2 separate regions of the Homo sapiens genome follow, and region 1 is linked to region 2. Evidence: promoter capture Hi-C in 16 types of primary human blood cells and fetal thymus (Javierre and others, 2016). All regions are on one chromosome and are shown on one strand. The core of a region is centred on a gene start or on the middle of the fragment in contact, and the rest is flanking DNA. Distances in the headings are between cores, read along the strand shown. Region 1 overlaps GJA8 (gap junction protein alpha 8). Region 2 holds the start of PRKAB2 (protein kinase AMP-activated non-catalytic subunit beta 2).

Region 1 (3,633 bases), core at 1,134-3,633, 740 kb before region 2:
TAATTGGCAATCTGTCTCCAGTCATTTATTAAGGTCAATGAGCCTCAGGTTCCTACTAAACATATGGGGTTAAATTCTGTTTTGAATCTCTTCTGAGAAAAGTGATCTCTGGAGTGTCTATTTCACGTTGAAAAACTCACCAGGTAACTACGAGGCAGGTTGGAGGGACAGATGGAAACCATCCACCTGCCCTTCTTCCCAGTCTTACTGCTGTTGGAGGAATCTCTCAGGGAATGGTACCACTCAGCAGGCCTCATGCTTGGCAGCCAACTCAATCTTTAGGACACCCCTGGATGTAGGTAGGTGGCAAATGCCAGCTTTAGTTTGTAGACAGAAAACTGAAGTAAAGAGAGCTCAAGGCACAATAATGATACAGCTACTAAATGGCAGAAATAGAAAAAAAATGCAGCCCCTTGATGCCTGTGTCTGTTTCTTCCTAAATAGGCTTCTCCTTTTATTGGGAAGACTAAGAGGGAAAATGTGGGGACAGTGTGGGTACGTTCATTGAAGCAGGATACTGCCTCATCTGAGGAAAGACGCTCTATCACACACTTATGTCCCACCTGAGATAAGGAGACCAGTAGCCCTCATTTCTACAACTGGTACCAAACAGCAGTTTTATTTAGAACAGGATATCGTTTTTCTTTTTCTTTTTTGTATTAGGCTCTAGTTGAGATAGACACTTTATTCTGGTAATGATCAAGCTATTCATAAGGCTCTTCCTAAAATGCATCTTCAGGAACAAAACTATGGGAGCAATAGTGCAGCCATTAGAGTCAAGGATGCACTCTCTGGTTCTCAGGCCTCGGATTGTGTTAATTCTCTCACCATATAGGAGAAAGTCTGTGTAGAATAACGTTGCTTGCTAGGGGTAAGATTAAGCAGTAGCCAGAAAATCACGTGCCTCCAAGATAAACATACCTCTTCTATTCAACATCCCTCCACTGAAGGTTTGTCACTTTGGGTTACCTAGGTAAAAATATATTTTAGTCTTTCTCTTTTAAATGCAGTTTTTTCCCCAGGAGTAGTTACCGAACAATCAAACCTTAGAATGAATTTAATTTTTAGACTACTTTGCTTTAGAATGGGTCACCAAGGAATGGAAATTTTGTCAAGGGGGAGGAATAGTTTTGGAAAAGGCCTGCTTTGGAAAGGTATATCTTGAATGAATATCTTAAAAGGAAGGTGGTAACCAGAGGGCAGCAAAGGGGATTGATATACTTTGAGATGATGCTGATCGGGGTTGGGAAGATACAACAAACGCAGTTTTTCTAAGTATCCCTTTTGGGCCCCTTGCTGGTCTCCTGTCCAGGTCCCTGCTATGTCAACTTGGTTTCTATACCTCCTACCCTATCTTTGGCACTGCAGTCCATGAAGCATAGTGTTGCTTTAGGTGAACCATCTTAGTTTTCTCTCCTTGCTCTGGAAATCAATTGGCTGAGGGTAAAATTGCTCCTGGTATGAAATATGTACGTGTACATGAGGATTTCCCCTGAACAGACTCTGTGTTTGAGGAGGGTGAGTTGTGGGAATATGAGGACAGGAGCCCTTCAAGATTCTTCTTGTTCCCTTTAGCCTCTGTGTCCTTTCCAGGGATGAAGCTTGGCCTGAGACTCCACTTTGGGATCCTGGCTGTGTGAGCACCCACTTTGTGAGAGGCTCCCTCTGGTGCCACCCTGATGGCCCTTTGATCATGTCTGAGAGCTGCCTCTTCCCAGGACATGCCTGTGAGCAGATGTCCTCCAGCTCGAAACTGGGCTTGCTTCTAGTCACTAGTGAAAAAAGGTATAGATTTTAGGCTGAGCACTGATGCTGCAAGAGGGGAATAAAGAAAGGATCTTCTTTGCTTCAGGAAAAACAAACTACAACCAGGCCTCAAAGCCTTTTGATTTCACAGAGAGAGTTTTGGCAACTTGCTCTCTTTCTCTGATGGTACCCAGGGCAGAATTCCCACCAATACAAAGCATATCATTGCTTCAGAACCCAGGGGCTACAATGAGCCAAAAGAATGGTCAGTGAGAACTTTAGGTATCTCCTGGACTGATGATTTAAACAAAACACTCCAAAGTAGTGAAATAAGGTTTAGGAGCCACAGAAACAAGTTGAGACCATAAATAATAAGACCGATTCCATAGGAAAGCTGGGCTAATTAGCATAAGCTGATATTGCAAATTGGTGCCTCACAGGTTAAATGTGGCTTGCACATATTTCATTTGGTCCACATGTTGTATTTAAAATTTAGTTGCCAACATTAACAATTTTGAAAATTTCAATTAAAATTTAGATTTCATGGGCCAGGCACGGTGGCATACACCTGTAATCCCAGCATTATAGGAGGCTGAGGTGGGTGGATCACTTGAACCCAGGAGTTTGAGATCAGCCTAGGCAACATGGTGAAACGCCATCTGTACAAAAAATACAAAAATTAGCCGGGTGTGGTGGTGTGCGCCTATAGTCCCAGCTACTTGGGAGGCTAAGGTGAGAGGATCACTTGAGCTTGGGAGGTTGAGGCTGCAGTGAGCTGAGATTGTGCCACTGCACCCCAGCCTGGGCAAGAGAGAGCCTGTCTAAAAAAAAGGTTGGATTTCTGGCTTCCCTTGAAAAATCAGAAAGACCAGGTAACACTTCATGGTACTCATTGTCTGGAAGTGAGCAGCAGCTGCCCCTGCTTTCCAACTTTCACAGCCCCATTCTCTCCCTTGCATTAGAACAGGCCTGTCTTGCAACTTATGTCACCTGTCTGTATTCTGTAGGCTTTTGAGTCTGGATCCCTGAAATATGGTCACATGGTATCTGCTTCAGAAATGCTGGGATGATAGATTCTGGCTTAGTGAGCTTGAGACAAGATGGGTAAAAGGCTATGAGGCAACCCCAATTCCGATTTAAGGGTTTCTATGGAGAAATGGGGATGAAAGAAGAGTCACCCATAGCTGCTGGGGTTGGAGGAGCGGGGTAGTCCTATGAGACTGGGGAACTTTAGTGGGTCGATGGGTTTATCTTGGTAGCCCTTATGCTGGATGTGGGAAAGACTGTTTCCTAGAGTTGCCTGGAGTGCACTGCCCTGCTGCAGTGCCTGTCCAACCAGAGGCTGGTGGGAGGACAGGAGACAGAAGATTCAGATCATGTTGGCACCTGTTCCTTTCATCTTGCCCTACGTAAGCTTGGGCGTTTTTTTTTTTTTCTTTGGCGTCACTTCATACGGTTAGATCGTCTGACCTGGCTCGGCTGCTGGCTTTGCTTAGCCTGCTCAGGGGTCTGGCATCATCTGTTGTCAGCTCTGGACAGAGTGAAGGTGTCTTCTCAGCTGGCAGCCCTTGCTTTGACACCTTCTCCGACTGCGGCTCTTCTTTTTCACCCTCCTTATCCACTCCGGGGGTCTCTACTTTCTCCCCCTCTGGCACGGCCACCTTCTCCTGCTCCTCCGTGGTCAGCCTCTCTGCTTCCTCCTTCTTCTCTCCCACCTCGGGTTCGGCTCCCTCCTCTGCAGGCGGCCCCTCGCCCTCCACTTCTTGTGCCCCCACCTGAGCGTAGGAAGGCAGTGTCTCTTGGTAGCCCCGGGACAAGTCCCCCAGGGGTCCTGTGCTGATCTTCTCCTCGAACTGATTGAAAGGCTTGGCAGGCAGTGGGCTGGTC
Region 2 (3,665 bases), core at 999-3,498:
TCTAAGAAAAAAAAAAGGAATTTGGGACTAAGGAGAATTCATTCTTCCTACAGTGTCACATTACATTTGTTCTGTGTCTAAAACCTGCAATATTCAAAACTGACTTTTATTATTAACTGTTGAGTGACTTACAAATGTTGTTAGAGCAGAGCAGGGCAGAACAGTGTCATGGATAATCTTCCAAAGCAGATAATTCAAAAGTCATTTCCATTTAGCTGTGCAAAAACAGTTTATTTCTCTCCGTCAGTTTTCCATTGGTTAACGTACTTTGTTTCTGCTAGGCTGATTTGACTACTGCAAGGAAATACATACCAAGGACATATTATTTGGCATGGTGAAACCACCTTGGGGTCAGAAAACTGAATACTACACAAGTCAAGGTTTAATGTATTATGTATCTTCAAGGGCCTTGCTTCAGTGTCCTATGGTAAGGAATTGAGGGGTGGAGGGAGAAAAGTAGGGATAACCAAAAAGCATGTACTCAGACATAAAGATTTTGGAGGGGTGAGCAAGAAGTTGCAGTAAAATCGTACCTTTTTTTTTTCTTCCTGTAAACTGTCTTTGGTTTATGAGCCAAAGAATGAGTTTATAAGAGGCAGAGCAAAGAATAGGGGAGTAGTGAATTTGTTGTACTTAAGTGGGATGTCAACTTCATAATATAAAAATGAACGTTTCAGCAAATAGAGCTGCTCACTCAGAAAGGGTGGCCTATGTAACTTGGGGTTCCCCATCATTGGCCGTGTTTAAGCCTAAGTGGCATATCTGGTTAGAAATGGATTACAGTAAACAGTATTCCTGTATCCTTCATTCCGCAAATGCAAAAGCCTACTCTGTATAAGGTACATGCAGAATATGAAAAGGTATCAAATCTGGATCTGCTCTCTGCCAGCTGTCAAAGCATTGCTTCTCACACACTTTAATGTGATCTTGTTAAAATGCAGATTCAGAACCCTGGGGATGGGGCCTGATTCTGCATTTCTAACAGGCTCCCAGTTGACGCCAACACTGCTGGTCTGTGTAACACAGAGTGATAAACGTTTCTAGAAGGAGACATGCAAATACTTATAATACAAAGGTAAGTACCTTAGGGATTCCACTAATTTTCATAAAAAACCTGGATCCCTCCCAACCCTAGGGCTGTCTTTGCCCTTTTTATACCTTTAGTGTTCCTTCTGATGTTTTCGTTGTTGCTATCTTCCTTGAATTTTATTTCTTCTGAGGTTTCTCACTGTGTATGCTGTTTCTTAGCCTAGGAGAGCCTTTTCGTTCTTCTCCTAAGACTAACATTTTACTAATTTGTCAAGGAGCTAGAGCTCCTAAACACGCCATCTTGAATTCTTCCCTGCGACCCCAGTCGGGCTGAAAGCTCCTTCCTTGTCGCTCCCCACTGAACAGATTTTTCTTGGGGCGGGGAGAGGGGGACGGAGTATCGCTGAGTCGCCAGGCTGGAGTGCAATGGCGCGATCTCGGCTCACCGCAACCTCCGCCTCCCGGGTTCAAGCGATTCTTCTGCCTCATCCTCCCAAGTAGCTGGGACTTCCGGCGCGCGCCACCACGCCCAGCTAATTTTTGTATTTTTAGTAGAGCCGGGGTTTCACCTTGTTGGCCAGGATGGTCTTGATCTCCTGACTTCGTGATCTGCTCGCCTCAGCCTCCCAAAGTGCTGGGAATACAGGCGTGAGCCACTGCGCCCGGTCAGAACAGTTTTAACCTCCAGCAATGACCACTGCTTCCTTCTGCCTGCAGTTGGAAGTCAGTTTCAGTTTTCTTATTCCCTATAAGGAACCCACCTCTCCGGTCGCCTAACACACAGATGCTGCCCAGAAAACGTGCTGGCGCACCTGAGGCGGGGTAGAAAGCCGTGCCGCTCCTCCCGGCACCGAGCACCGGAGCCCAGGGAGGCGGCCTCCGAGTGTCATTTGGGGACGTCCCTTCTGCCGGGTAGTCTCAGAGGCCAAGCGCTCCTATTATCCCGGGCGCAGTCTCCCCAGGCGGGACAGGCCCTGCCTGGCGCCCCCTCCTGGCGCTGGAGGCTGCGTGCGACTGCCCACCATCGAGGCGGCGGCGGCGGCGGCTAGAGAGGCCGGCGGGTCCCGGGCGCCGAGGCTGCAGGCCGCAGGGAACGCGCACTGGGCGGACTCCGCGCCGCCGGCCTTGTAGCCATTTTAGGAGGAATCGCTGGTCGCCAGCGAGGGGTGCGGCTTCAATTTCAATAACTTTATTGGTGGCCTGATCTGCAGAACAGCCATCACATCAGTGGCCCTTGGAGGAGGGAGCGCATCGCCCGAGGTGACTGGAGTGGGGGCGCCCCTGGCAGTGAGCGCGGGGACGCGGGGGAGGTCCCGATAGCGGGTTTCCTGAGCTAGGGCCAGTGAGGGCACCGGGGTATTTGCAGGCGTTCCCGCAGGCCAGGAGGGAGAGGGCTCCAGGGCTCGGCTTCCCTGGGGCGGGGAATCCCTTGCCCTGTCCCGAGGCGCAGGGGCGGGGCCGGGGGGCGCCCCTGACGCGGCGGCTGAGGTGTTCCCAGCCCGGTGTCGTTCCCCGCGGTAGGTGGTCCCCGACGAGCTGCAGCCATGGGAAACACCACCAGCGACCGGGTGTCCGGGGAGCGCCACGGCGCCAAGGCTGCACGCTCCGAGGGCGCAGGCGGCCATGCCCCGGGGAAGGAGCACAAGATCATGGTGGGGAGTACGGACGACCCCAGCGTGTTCAGCCTCCCTGACTCCAAGGTAAGCGTCCCATGCCCGCAGTTGGTGTCAGTACTGCAGCGGGTTGATTTCTGGGCTCCTCTTCCCTTTCTTGGTTCTTTTCTACCGCGCCGAACCGGGCTATGGTTTTTTGAATTAAAGGGATTTATCGGGGACAGAGGTGTTGGATGATAATTCCTCTTGAAGTGCCGCCTCAAAATAGGATAAAGAGGCGGAGTTCTTGCTTTCCTGGTGTTCTGACTAATCTGTTGGCCACATTTTTAGGATGGGGACAATAGACATCCCCCCATCCCCGATCCTCCGAGCACGAATGGCTCTCTTCCATAGCGTTGCTGAATTTGTAGTTTGTAATCCCTGGTGGACAACTTCAGAGGGTAGGTTGCACGAGTTGCTGACCATAGGTGGTAGTTTCTCACCTTTGCCCTGAGGTGGCTAAATGAAATTCTTTTTCTGAAAATTTCTATGTATCAGTATCATTTTTGCTCTTCTAGCAGCTCTACAGTTGTGATCCTCTTCCCTTTTGGCACGGCTGTAAGCAGCAACTACTTGCTTATTGAATACTTTCTCCTAGTCTTGGGGATCAATTAAGGACATCATTTAGTTGACTGCTTAATTTTTGTCCCATACTTTATAGTTGTGGTGGCTGAGGCTGTGCCTCTTTCACGCCCCGCTGCTGCTCCGTAGGTGGAAGAGCCAATGATTCCACGACTTGTTTACTCCTCAGTAGTACTTCAAAATGTTGCGTGGCTAAAAAAACGACAACCCACAGCTGCCCTGAAGACCTTGCTCTCAATTCCAAGGACTTTCAGGAAGAGAACAACTTGTTTTCACTCTGTAAGAAAGGACAGATGGAGCTGATAGCAGCGATTACCATTCTAATGTTTCTAATGGCTTTCAGAGCTGTCAGCATGAAATACAAGTAATTCCTCCAGGTAGACTGACTGGATGAGATAGAAA

Evidence for each region. Contacts are between HindIII fragments. The CHiCAGO score rates a contact against its expected background, and 5 or more counts as called.
Region 1: a fragment that was not itself captured here is called in contact with the fragment with the promoter of PRKAB2 in region 2 in 2 of 17 cell types (neutrophils and fetal thymus); the score reaches 7.7 in neutrophils.

What each region holds. Positions count from the first base shown.
Region 1 is chr1:147,908,819-147,912,451 of GRCh38, reverse strand. It overlaps GJA8 (gap junction protein alpha 8), which reads right to left. Exons shown (of 2, transcript NM_005267.5): 2 at 3,183-3,633. The coding sequence ends at 3,195. Among named protein-coding and RNA genes, the nearest start is that of GJA8, 7.8 kb to the right of the region's middle. The HindIII fragment of the contact is 1,559 bases long and covers 1,604-3,162 here.
Region 2 is chr1:147,171,053-147,174,717 of GRCh38, reverse strand. PRKAB2 (protein kinase AMP-activated non-catalytic subunit beta 2) reads left to right here and starts at 2,248. Exons shown (of 8, transcript NM_005399.5): 1 at 2,248-2,289; 2 at 2,551-2,729. The coding sequence starts at 2,574. It also overlaps a transcript of CHD1L not described here. RefSeq lists silencers at 1,919-2,148, 2,319-2,588. The HindIII fragment of the contact is 16,401 bases long and covers 1-3,665 here.